4 separate regions of the Homo sapiens genome follow, and regions 2, 3 and 4 are each linked to region 1. The links are contacts of gene promoters, found by promoter capture Hi-C in human tissues and cell types (Jung and others, 2019). All regions are on one chromosome and are shown on one strand. The core of a region is centred on a gene start or on the middle of the fragment in contact, and the rest is flanking DNA. Distances in the headings are between cores, read along the strand shown.

What was found. The method cuts DNA at HindIII sites, captures the fragments that hold promoters and counts their contacts. A contact is called where the count stands out against the background at its distance.
Region 2: a contact is called between a fragment that was not itself captured here and the fragment with the promoter of MED27 in region 1, in 1 of the 25 tissues and cell types used here (dorsolateral prefrontal cortex).
Region 3: a contact is called between a fragment that was not itself captured here and the fragment with the promoter of MED27 in region 1, in 1 of the 25 tissues and cell types used here (IMR-90 fibroblasts).
Region 4: a fragment that was not itself captured here is called in contact with the fragment with the promoter of MED27 in region 1 in 2 of the 25 tissues and cell types used here (hippocampus and lymphoblastoid cells).

The regions. Positions count from the first base shown.
Region 1 is chr9:132,078,340-132,081,543 of GRCh38, reverse strand. It overlaps MED27 (mediator complex subunit 27), which reads left to right and starts at 1,677. Exons shown (of 8, transcript NM_004269.4): 1 at 1,677-1,902. The coding sequence starts at 1,700. RefSeq lists an enhancer at 1,501-1,780. The HindIII fragment of the contact is 14,332 bases long and covers 1-3,204 here.
Region 2 is chr9:131,888,357-131,891,560 of GRCh38, reverse strand. All of the region lies in intron 5 of MED27 (mediator complex subunit 27), which reads left to right. Among named protein-coding and RNA genes, the nearest start is that of RAPGEF1, 150 kb to the right of the region's middle. RefSeq lists an enhancer at 1,650-2,181. The HindIII fragment of the contact is 5,573 bases long and covers 1-3,204 here.
Region 3 is chr9:132,252,657-132,255,860 of GRCh38, reverse strand. No RefSeq gene overlaps it. Among named protein-coding and RNA genes, the nearest start is that of NTNG2, 92 kb to the right of the region's middle. The HindIII fragment of the contact is 6,941 bases long and covers 1-3,204 here.
Region 4 is chr9:131,936,201-131,939,404 of GRCh38, reverse strand. MED27 (mediator complex subunit 27) reads left to right here. Exons shown (of 8, transcript NM_004269.4): 4 at 1-24. Among named protein-coding and RNA genes, the nearest start is that of MED27, 140 kb to the left of the region's middle. The HindIII fragment of the contact is 5,314 bases long and covers 1-3,204 here.

The sequences.
Region 1 (3,204 bases), core at 428-2,927:
TCATGGAGGTCATGTTGTGCTCTTTCCAGTGCATTGTATCAGGAGGTGCACAACATGTCCCGTCACTGGTGATGTTGACCTTGGCCTTTTGGTTAAGCTGGTGTCTGCCATGTTTCTCCACTGTGAAGTCACTATTAAGTCACTATCCATCCCCCCTTATGTTTACATTAATGAATTGTTTAAAATTTTTTGGTAAAATATACATAATATAAAATCAACCATTTTCACTGTTTCTAAGTGTCCAGTTCTGTGGCATTAAGTACAATCACATTGTTGTATGGCCATCACCACCATCCAGCTGTAAAACTTTTCCAAGTCTGTACTCTTTAAGTACAGACTTAAATATGGCCCTTTGCAATATTATGCTGAAATCTTCCTCTCTACAGCCTTCCTACAACTGGTTATTGTTATTGCCACTAGTTAACCAAGGAGGACTCTTGTCTTGGGTTGACATGAAGGTGAGTTGAAGGTCACAATCATGATCTGCCTCCTGCTCTCCTCTTCTCTGCTCCAAGCTATGCAACCCCAGCTCCTCTAAGGAAAGAACATGAGGACTTGGGCAGGTTCCCTTTAGTAAAAAGATAATAAATTTTCAGAAACCTGTCTATAGCCAACAGGACAAAGAGACATTGAATTTTTCCATAAAGCCAGATTTGGCCAACATTTTGTTGGTTTTATTTAAATCCCAAACCTTCTCTTTCTTCCACAACCTCTATGCTATGTATGTTATTTTCAGAGGTGTGTGTTCACTGTAAACCAGCCACCATTCTACTTTCTGTCTCTAACATTTTGACTACCCTAAACACCTCATATAAGTGGAGTCACACAGAATTTTGTTTTTTTGTGACTGGCTTATTTCACTTAGCATAATGTCTTCAAGTTTCCTCCAGGTAGCATATGTCAGAATTTTCTTGCTTAAGCCTGAAGAATTTTTCATTGTATGCCAGTATCACACTTTGTTTATTCATCAGTTTATGGACACTTGGGTTTCCCCTGCCTTTTGGCTATTTGGTGAATAATGCTGTTATGAACATGTGTACAGGTATTGAGTCCCTGCTTTCGCTTCTTTTGGGTATATGCCCAGAAGTGGAATCTCTGGATCATTATTTTCCTCTTCTTAATTAATAAGCATCTTGGGGGACGATACTTTGAGATTACCTAAAAAGCCTGTTATTTTTCTGACACTTTCACCCACTAGTTTTAGCATCCATCGATTTCTATCTGAATCAATTATTCTAATGGCTGTCAAATGGCAATTTTCTAATTCCATCACTCTTTCTGCATTTATGAGCTGGCATTCTATTGGAAAGAAGAAACTTTCCTTCTCCCCGCTTTATTTATGAATATGGACTCATTTTATTGAATGGGCTATGTTCCTTTCCTTTTTACACTATTGCTCTGAGCAATTCTTTTCCCTATGATTCCCCAGAGTGCAAGTTTGGGGAAATGCGGGAACTTTCTGTATTTCTTTGTCACCATTAAGCAAACCGGGAGTGCAACCTGACTTCCCCAAGTTGAGAAAAATCACTTTCCTGCCCATGCATTAGTTTAGCTCAAGGGGAAACCCTTTTTCGAAAGTGCTTTCTGGGTAGCCCCGCGCGAACTGCATTTCCCAGAGGTCTTCGGAGATACGTCATCAGCGAGCGCGGCTTTTTTGCTTGCGAAGCCGGCTTTGGAGAGCTGCTGTGGCGGCGGCAACATGGCGGACGTGATAAATGTCAGTGTGAACCTGGAGGCCTTTTCCCAGGCCATTAGTGCCATCCAGGCGCTGCGCTCCAGCGTGAGCAGGGTGTTCGACTGCCTGAAGGATGGGATGCGGAACAAGGAGACGCTGGAGGGCCGGGAGAAGGCCTTTATTGCGCACTTCCAGGACAACTTACATTCGGTCAACCGGGACCTCAAGTAGGTACCGGCTGAAGGGGCCGGGGTCGGGGACCGGCCCCGCTCCGACCCTGCCCCTACGTCGCTCGAGTCTTCCCAGGCAGGGGCTGTTCTCCGTTTCCCTTGATCCCTGTTCTTTCTCTTCTTGTTCTCCAAGCCTCTGCCTGTCCCTCAGGGACATCTTAACACCATCCCCGCTTTCTCGTCTTGCTTCTCCTGGCCTCCTGGTCCTGTTTGTCTTCCGCCATCCTCGACCTCTTCTGTGGCGGTTCCATTCCTAACAAGGAGGCATGCTTTTCCCATGAACTTCCACTTCTCTGAGCTTGGCAGGTTTCTCACCTGTAGGCCCTCTGTGCCCCATCACGTCTGATCCGAATGTAGTAATAGTACAGACAGGACCTGGTCAGTCGGCTCCAAACCCAAGTGCACCCGATCTGATTAGCCCCAATTCCCCGGCCCTGAACTTGGACTTCATCAGTTCCACCACCACCCACCCGCAACCACGACGGACCGGCCAGGCCTTGAGCTGTCTTCACCTTTTCCCCTAACCGCTCCCAAACCACCTGATCAGTTTCCTCACTCCCACTCCTGTGGGAGTTCCTTCCGCAGTAGAGACCTACTCTCTAATCTCTTAACCAGTTTAATTACTTATGCTTAACGCCCCTGCTTCTTAATTTGTAGTCTTTTAGGGTTAAGGATTCCACTTTTCCTCCTCTTCCTTACAAAGTACCTTCTTCACTTACACTTTTTAAGTGTTGTAAGAATTAAATGAGAGGATGTTTGTAAAGGGCCTGGCACATAGTAGGCACTTCTTGATTGCTTAGGTCCTGAACTTGCCTTCTGTTTTATAAGAGAGTCAGTCCTTCCCAGGAAGGTTAGAATTTCAGGATTTTTGCCTTTTACTTCTCAGAACTGACCTGAGTAGGGGAAAGCATTTGGTGAGCTAGTCATCCTTTGATTTCTGGACTGGTTGGATTTTTGTTTTTTCAACTTGGTCTCCTTAGTAACCAGATGGAAAGAGGAGGTAGGATGGAGGAGGAGGAGGAGGAGGTGGCCAAATGATGGGTGCCTTTTTGTTTTCCCCCTAAGTAGTTGCCGTAAATCACACAGCCCTCCTCAACGCCCACATCCGCTTGCTGTTCTCTGGCACCGCGCCGAGCACCAGTTAATACTTTCTCTGCTTCAGGGGATGCACTGGCTATTCTTCCCTATCTTCTGTTTTCTTTCCATTTTCTCTCCGAGTTACTTCCCTTTGTAATGTTCAGGATATTATAACCCTTCACCATTTTAAATAGAAACTTTAAGAGTGCTGACATTATCCTT
Region 2 (3,204 bases), core at 277-2,776, 190 kb after region 1:
TCTTTACTGTGGAAACCAGTTTGCTGATGTGCCTTATGAATATCTTACAGGGAGTAGAGAGTATGCAATATTTTCCTAACTTATTTGGCCACCAAATTCTTTTTATCTTCTTTTATTCTTAGAGCATATTGTGACATTGCCATTTTGTAGAATATACTTCTGAAAACTCTGGCTTGTAGCATAAAATCCAGACTCCTCTGCAAGGCGTCTAAATGCCTCATGGCGCAGCCTCTGCCTTCCTTTCTGACTTCATCTGGCATCATTCTCTACACACACCTCATCTTATCTCCAGCCGCGTGCTCCCTGTAGCTTCCATGACATGCCAGACTCTTTCACGTATTTGCACGTTTTGTGCCTTTTGCCCTGGGATCCCTCCTAGTCCAGCTGACAAAGTTTTACTCTTCCCTTTACAGTGGCTGAATGCCATCTTCCTTCCCATCCTGTCTCCATTTTCCCAAGAGCCTCTTTGCTTATGAACATGGGCTCTAGAGATGGCCGACCTGGGTTTGCCTCTCCTTACAGCACAGAGTTATCATCATTATCCATACACCCATAGAATTCAGAACAATCTTTTCCTAGTACTAGAATTGGTGCATCATGATTATTTACATGTCCATCTTGCAATTAATAAAAATACTAACAATACTAACATACGTTGGTCAGGCAGGCACTGCACAAAGCGAACTTTGCCCACGGTGGCTGTCGAATCCTCCTCACAGCATCATGAGACAGGTGCTGCTCTTAGACTCATCTTACACATGGAGAAACTGAGACCTAGAATGGTAACGTTGCCCACAGCCACACAGGGCTGGATCTCAATCCTGCATCTACCAGGAGCTCCTCAAGGGCACAGGCTCCATCGTGTGACTGTCTGTCTGTAGGGTGCACTTCTGTGCCAGGAGCACGGTAGGAGCCCAGTCCTGTCTGGGAGGAGATGATGAAAAAGCCTACTTGGGATATGAAAATGCTTAAGCTGGAATGGAAAGTGGAGAATCAAAAATGAGAAATGGGGACTAAAAGGAGCGGCAGTAATTGAAGTTGTAAATAAGTCAGAGGATAAAGGAGACACACGAGTAAAGGGAGACCTCAGGCCCTCCTGATGAGAGATTAGCCCGGCCTCTCTCTTTCTCCGAAGGAAAATGGCTGTACATTTGGGACCCTGGTTGACATCAGAAATGTGGTTGGACAGGAAGCCTTGCGTCCCCCTTTACAACTGTATGCGTTGGCCCAAGCAGTGCTTAAGCAGGGACCCTAAAAGTGGAAATTGCAAGACCGAGAGAACCAGGCCTCTTTGTTATTTTAAGGACACACTGACCACATTTGGCAGAGAAGCTCTCAAATGACTGTTCCACTCAGAATCTCATCCTAGCCAATTTGATTAGCCCCTTTTTTTCAGAGCACTTCACAAATGATAAAAATAAACCATGCAGACATTATTAGTGCTCTATTTTGAGTACTCTGTGTGTGTGTACTTTATTTATATACAATCTAGGCATTAGTGCAATTAATGTGTTGAATTGTCTGGCACATCCCAAATGAAATGTGGCGTCTGGAAGGAGCCCTTGGGGCCTGACATGTGTTCTACAAGAGCACGTTGTTGCTGGAGACGTCGCTGCTCCCGGGACGCAGCCTGCGTTTGCTGAGTTGGTGCCTAGGTGGCTGCAGGGGGGTGTTTTGCTGCAGTCTCCTGGAGCACAGCCACAGAGGCCCTGGGTGTGGCTCAGGAAGCCTCCTATGGGCTTAACTTCTGCCTCTGCGGTTGTCTCTGTCCTCCAAGCCCAAAGCAACCAGCACATTCGAAAGTTTCATTATCCTTCTTGCTGCTGTAGTGGCCCAGCACCACCCCTAATTTCCAGACCTTGCAGGTTTTTTCCCCATCAGAATCCAGCCCAGCAAGGCTATCACTTTGCACTTTGCACTTTGCTCTAACAACCACCGCCATGACCCTAGCATCCTGTCTCTTTACCTGCAATGCATATTTTTGATACCAAGGACCAATAGCCTGATTCCTCTAATAAAATAAAAATGCTTTTCAGACTTACCAACCACTTATTCATTGTACTCAGGGAGTAGCAAGAGCCACGACTCAGCATGTTAAAAGGCAGGATTGAAGATGAATACCTGGCCATTGTCCTGATTTTATACCAGTCAGACTTAACTGAAAAAAAAATGTGTCTCGTTCGAATTTAACTTTTTGGGGGATTTAGGTTATGTTAATGCTATAGCTTCATTAATTACCCCATATCAATAAAAAAGGCAGCTTTTAGCCTCCGAGCATAAGAGAGGAAAAGAAATGGTGGTATCAAAGGAAACCTTCAAAGACAGCCAGAGCTGTCTCCAGGGTAATTTCTGATCCCTGCATTCTTCCCACTTCAAAGTTGGCTGTGTGTGTGCATGTGGGTCGAGGGGGTGGGGAGCTGAATCTGATTTCTCTAATAAGTGTTGGCATCAGCCCTGTTTGATATCAGATGCAGGGAACATTTTGATTTGTTATAGCCTTTGAAATTGTTCAGATGACCTTCAGAAAAATGGCCTCTTGTTACTTCTAGGGGGAAGGGTGAAAGCCAGGGAAAGGGGAATCCAGTTTAATTCATATGCAGAGGATTCCCTGAAATTGTGCTTTCAGCAGTTTTTTAGTAACAAATGCATGTCCTGATTGAAAGTGAAAAGTTGAAGAATAATAGACCTGTAACACTGTGTTCTTGGGTGAGGCTCTTGTTCACTCTTATTCTCTGGGGAGGGTCAGCAGATTTGAGAGGGTGACCACATAGAAGTTTATGGTTTGGAAAATGTGGGTAACAACATGGAGAGATCCGTCACCATAGCTGGTTTGCAGCATTCTACCCAAACTGATAGGCCTATCACCTGTTCACCTTGCAAGACGAAGCTACTAAATAGAGGTTCTAAAAGTTGGAACCTCGTGTGGCTTACGAGTTTTATTTAGATAATTTTGAATCGATTCCACTGTTTTTTGAAATGAAGTATTGATAACTTTCTGATAAGCTGCCAAAATGTTCACTTGCTGTTACATGAATTTTAGTGGCAGTGGTTGTCACAGCAGCAGGCCTCAAAGCAGAACTATGCTCCCAGAAGAGCTGCGCAAGTGACAGCTTAGGGAGCGCGCAGCCCCGGCATCCTGCCTGCTGTCTAACTGGAAGGCAGTCTCTTCCTCCCAGGGTAAGAGCTGGGCCTCTGCACACAGAC
Region 3 (3,204 bases), core at 278-2,777, 170 kb before region 1:
TGGGCATGGTATGTGGAAGGGATAGAATTTTTCTCCTCACTTCTCATAAATGCAACCACATCAGTCTAGCTCTATTAATAGTCATTCAACATTTTTTGTTTCTTTCTTTCTTTTTTTTTTTTTTTGATACAGAGTCTTGCTCTGTCACCCAGGCTGGAGTGCAGTGGCACAATCTCTGCTCACTGCAACCTCCGCCTCCAGGGTTCCAGTGACTCTCTTGCCTCAGCCTCCTGAGTAGCTGGGATTACAGGCACCTGCCACCAGGCCCAGCTAATTTTTGTTTTTGTTTTCTTTTGAGATGGAGTCTCACTCTGTCGCCCAGGCTGGACTGCAGTGGCACAATCTCTGCTCACTGCAGCCTCCGCTGCCCTGGATCCAGAGATTCTCCTGCCTCAGCCTCCTGGGGAGCTGGGATTAAAGGCATGTGTCATCACATGTGGCTAATTTTTGTACTTTTAATAGAGACAGGTTTTCGCCATGTTGGCCAGGCTCGTCTCAAACTCCTGACCTCAGGTGGTCCACCCACCTCAGCCTCCCAAAGTGCTAGGATTACAGGTATAAGCCACCGCGCCTGGCCTGTTTCTTATCCAAATTTTTATTTTGAAAATTTTAAGTTTAAAGAAAAGTTGAAATAGTACAAGGAATATCTAAATAGCCATTGCCCAGATTCACCAATCTCACCACATTGCACTCCCTTGTTTCTTTTTTTCTTTTTTTAGAGACGGGGTCTCGTGATGTTGCCCAGGCTGTCATGAGCTCCTCTGTCTACGTGTTCAGTTTTCATTGAGCAATCTGAAAGTATGCTATGGTGTCATGCTATTCCACTCCCAAACACTTCACCATGTATCTCTATGGAATAAGGACATTTTTCTTCCTTTTTTTTTTTTTGAGACGGAGTCTCGCTCTGTCTCCCAGGCTGGAGTGCAGTGGCGCGATCTCTACTCACTGCAAGCTCCGCCTCCCGGGTTCACGCCATTCTCCTGCCTCAGGCTCTGGAGTAGCTGGGACTACAGGCGCCCGCCACCACGCCCGATTAATTTTTCTGTATTTTTTTAGTAGAGACGGGGTTTCACCGTGTTAGCCAGGATGGTCTCGATCTCCTGACCTCGTGATCCACCCGCCTCGGCCTCCCGAAGTGCTGGGATGACAGGCGTGAGCCACCGCGCCCGGCTGGAATAAGGACATTTTTCTACATGATCACAACACTATTATCACATCTAAACTTGATATAATAACACGAGCTAATATATCATCCATAGTTACAATTCTGCAATGGTCCTAAGATGTCCTTTATTGCTGATTTTTTTTTTTGTTTTTTTGTTTTTTTTTTTTGAGACAGAGTCTCACTCTGTCGCCCAGGCTGGAGTGCAGTGACGCAATCTTGGCTCACTGCAACCTCCGTCTCCCGGGTTCAAGCGATTCTTCTGCCTCAGCCTCCTGAGTATCTGGGATTACAGGGACACGCCACCACGCCTGGCTAATTTTTGTATTTTTAGGAGAGACAGGTTTTCACCATATTGGCTAGGCTGGTCTCGAACTCCTGACTTCGTGATCCATGCACCTCGGCCTCCCAAAGTGCTTGGATTACAGACATGAGCCACCGTGCCTGGCCTATTGCTATATTTTTTTTTTTAAAAAGGATTTGATTTGGATCCAACATAGAATCATGCACTGTGCGTGGCTGTCCTGTATCTAGTTTTCCTCATTCAGAACAACTCCACTCCCTTTTTATTTTATTTTTTGTTGGTCTTTCACAATATTGGCATTTTTATTTATTTTCTTGTTTTTACTATTATTTTTTCCAACATAAGCCTTCCTGCACACGTATGGGCATTGTTGAGGAGTGCAGGCCGGTTATCTTAGAGAACGCCTCACTATCTGAGTTTGTCCGATTGTTTCCTCGTGCGTAGAGTCAGGTTACATATTTGGGGGAAGAACACTGTGTCAGTGGTGGTGTGTCTTTCCTGTGCTGTTGTATCACGAGCACAAAATATGTTTGTCCCGTTATTGGTGGCATTGAGTTGGTCACTTGCTCCAGGGGGTGTCCACAAGCTTCCCGTCTTTGTAATTAATCAGCCATCTGTGGGGTAAAACTCCGCGGCCGTGGGAGTGCGCTGTGGCCCACAGGTCCTTCACCAGTGCCTTGAGCATCTGTCTATGAGCCTGCCTGAATCCGCTGCCACACTGGAGGCTAAAAACTTCAAATTTTCTTTTTTCTTTTTTTTTTTTGAGGCAGAGTTTCACTCTTGTTGCCGAGGCTGGAGTACAATGGTGCAATCTCAGCTCATTGCAACCTCTGCCTCCCAGGTTCAAGTGATTCTCCCGTCTCAGCCTCCCAAGTAGCTGGGATTACAGGCATAAGCCACCACACCTGGCTAATTTTTTGTATCTATTAAGCAGGCACTCCCCCTTCTCCCCTCCCCAAGCCCCTGGCGAACACCAGTCTACTTACTGTCCCCATGGATTTGCCTATTCTGGGCATTTCATAGAAAAGGATGATACATTTTTTGACCTTTTGTGTCTGGCTTCTTCCGTGTGGCGTAATATATATATATATATATTTTTTCAGACAGAGTGTTGCTCTGTCACCCAGGCTGGAGTGCAATGGTGCGATCTCACCTCACTGCAACCTCTGCCTCCTGGGTTCAAGCAATTCTCCTTCCTCAGCCTCCCAAGTAGCTGGGATTACAGACACCCACCACCACCCCTGGCTAATCTTTTGTATTTTTAGTAGAGATGGGGTTTCACCATGTTGGCCAGGCTGGTCTTTGTGGGCAGCAAGCCACTCAGGTGCCAAGGCAAGAGACCAAGGGCACGAGCTGTTCCAGTGTAATAAAATATATAAAATAACAAGAATTATACTAGATCTAGATCATAGATATGATTATATATGAATATCATTAATCATTAGTTTGTAGCAATTACTCTTCATTCCAATGTTATAATAATCCTTGCTCTACAATCATAACCTAAGAAAAACCAGGCCATACAGAGATACGAGCTAAAGGTGCATGGTGAGAAGTGACCAGAAGACGTGTGAGCCCTCTGTCATGCCCAGACAGGGCCACCAGAGGGCTCCTTGGTCTAGCGGTAACGCCAGCGTCTGGGAAGACACCCGTTGCCAAGCGGACCGTGGTCTAGCGGTAGCGTCAGTGCCAAGGAAAAGCACCCGCTACTTAGCAGACCGGGAAAGGGAGTCTCCCT
Region 4 (3,204 bases), core at 456-2,955, 140 kb after region 1:
AATGGAACATCAGCAATGCTTCTGGTAAGATCAGCTTGACTGATTTGTAGGGATGTTGGGGGAAAAAATGGACTTCACAATTAACTCTCTGGTCCTGTGTTGTAGGATCTAGAGAATGGGGATTAAATTCCAATTTGATAGTGAATAACATAGTTTCTTTACTGGCATTCTGTAGGTTAAGAATTCTGCACATTGAAACCTTGCTTTTGAACAAAATTTCAGACCCCATGTAAGACTTAACCAGAGAGGAAAGACACTGTAAGACCATTTCACCTTAAGTCACTTAATGCAACCTCCCAATGTTTTGGCGAATCTGTTTTCTATTTTCCCCAAAGGAGTATAGTAGACAATAGTGATGCTCAACTGTTGGATCCTGCTAAAGAAAACACTCTCGCCAGGCGCGGTGACTCACGCCTGTAATCCCAGCACTTTGGGAGGCTGAGGCGGGCGGATCACGAGGTCAGGAGATCGAGACCATCCTGGCTAACACAGTGAAACCCCATCTCTACTAAAAATACAAAATATTAGCCGGGTGTGGTGGTGGGTGCCTGTAGTCCCAGCTGCTGGGGAGGCTGAGGCAGGAGAATGGCATGAACCTGGGAGGCGGAGCTTGCAGTGAGCCGAGATCACTCCACTGCACTCTCCAGCCTGGGTGACAGAGCAAGACTCCTTCTCAAAAAAAAAAAGAAAAAAAAAGAAAACACTCTCTTAATATAAAACCAGAATATTATGTATTTGAAGAAAGTGTTCTGAGACTGATGACTTCTGGTTTTGCTGTTTCTGATTATGGTTTGCTCTGAACACATCGCCTCATAATCTCCTAGAAGATGTTTGTATTTGCATGAATTCACCGAAGACAGGTGTGTTTTGGAAATACAGTGGGATAGAAATGCTAAATTATGTTATTAATTAGGAAGGCATAGAGACCTCAATGATGAGAAGCTTTTCTAGTGGTCTGTGTAATAATACTTGTATGTGCTTGAAGAATACTTCCCTGAACACAGATTTTTGAGGAACCACCACATTTTATAAAAAGCAGAGTTTATTGAATAAGAATGATGGTTTCGATGGGCGTCAGGGAGGTAAGGTTCAGGACTGGGTATTTTTTCCATCTATTCTGCTGTTGCTGCTTTGGAGCCTAGTGTGAACTCCCCATATTTTAGCATTTTACTTGTGTGAAATCTTATAAATAGCCAGTCACCCAGGATGAGTTACTGTTTACTCCAGCCGTTCATCTTCGGGGAGCATTGTGTGTGCGTGCGTGTTTTGGTCTTAAGACAGGAAAAGATCTGGGCTTGTTAAATGTTTGTTACTTCGTTTGTGGGGGAAACAAATTAGTGACATTCACCTGGATAACATAATATTTAAAAAATTTCTTTCAGTTAAAACATAAAGAAAAGGAGATAATGCGATGTTTTTTTCATAGAAAAGGGAAACAGTTTTCTTCATATAAAATACATCTGTCTACAGAACACAAAATATCGTCTGCCTCCAGAGGTTGCAGTGAGCTGAGATCGCGCCATTGCACTCCAGCCTGGGCAAAAGAGCGAGACTCTGTCTCAAAAAAAAAAAAAAGTCTGCCTCAGTTAAATGTACAAATTGCCCAGATTTTAAGATACCCCAGACCTAGCAGTTGAAACATAAACCCTGCTCTCAGCATACCTGACAGGGCCCCAGAGAGTTAATGAAGATAAAAATGAATGCATCCTCAGTGAAATAGGTTTGTTCAAATTATTTCTGGGTCATTGAGCTCCCATTTCATAATGAGGGTGGGATTTGGCATTGAAGGGAATGAGCAGAGGGAACAGGATTCCAGGCAAACAGGCCACACAGATGAGTTCCTTCCACCTGAGAAGGCAGGCATGTATTTCACAGTGATGGTCGACCTCGCCTGCTTTCCCATGGAGCTTCTGTCCTAATAGACTGATGAGAGAGTTTAGGGGCTCAATTCAAGGCAAGAATCACATTTCATATGCCCTGTTTATTTACTACCACTAACACCCATCCACCCCCGCTAATTCAGACACGTGGATCTAGGTGCCTACTTGTTACCTTTCTTCAGCGACACAGGAACTCACAGAAGCTGGTGCTTACTTACAGGGCCAGTGGTAGGTGATTTGATTCAGAATCAGATTGCCATGGGCCATGGGGTTAATCATACTTTTAACATAATGCCTGCATTTGGCATTTACTATTAAAAGTTGGAATTTTATGAGATGGCAAATCTCTAGGCTATTCACTGCTACCACATCCATCGTGAGGTGGGTGATGGGAATTCCTACCTGGAGGGGGAGCAGGACCAACAGATGCCACCTCCCCCACTACCTACTGCTAGTCACCTGTTCCCCAAAAAGTGTTTTCTGGAGATGAATCTGGAATAAATTGATTTATTCTGGAATGCAGTGTATTCCTGAAGGCTTTGGGGGCAAGCGAGACTGATGGGGAAAGACCAGTTAAGAGGCCGTTGAAGCAGGGTGCACTTGAGCAGTCTCAGCTGACACCTTCCTTTACCTCCCTCGGCAAATGTACGAACTGTGCCTGTGCTTTTGAAATAAAACGGCATTTCCTCCTGAATTGGCTGGGCTTCCTTGAATGCAGTCAACAGAAACTCTGATTGACTTACATAAGGAAAGAGTTGGTTTTGGTTTTGCTGTTTGATGGTGCCAGGTGCATCAGACTCAGTGATTAATCTGACCTGCCCGGCAGGACAAAAACCAGAGTAGCTCCAGGCATGTCAGGAACAAGATCAGGACAACGTTTTTTAGGGGGCCCCATGGCCCAAATGATTCCGTATTAACCGCCTTCCATCCCTGTGCATACAACCTGGGAAGAACACTCCTGCTGGCCTAGCCTGCAGTTGCTCCTTGCCCTGAGCCCAGAGGATGGGGGAGTCAGGCCTTGGCAGCCCCACAGAACTGCAAGGAGTGGAGGGGAAGTAATTCCCTAGAGGAACCAGCCGTCTGTATGGCACAGTGAACGTCTGTGTGGACAGAGTCTTGTGGCTTACACAGCACTTATCTCATCTGGTCCTCACTGTGGCCCTCGAGGTGGGTAGCACCAACTGTGCTCATCTGACAAGTAGGAAATGGAGGCAGTTGTTTCCCGTGGCTGCGGGGACACCTATCCCTATCTCCCCAAGCCTCCAGGATGCTGTCCTCCTCTTGTCTCTGAGGACAGGTCATGCTGGTGGCAAGTAAGATTTGG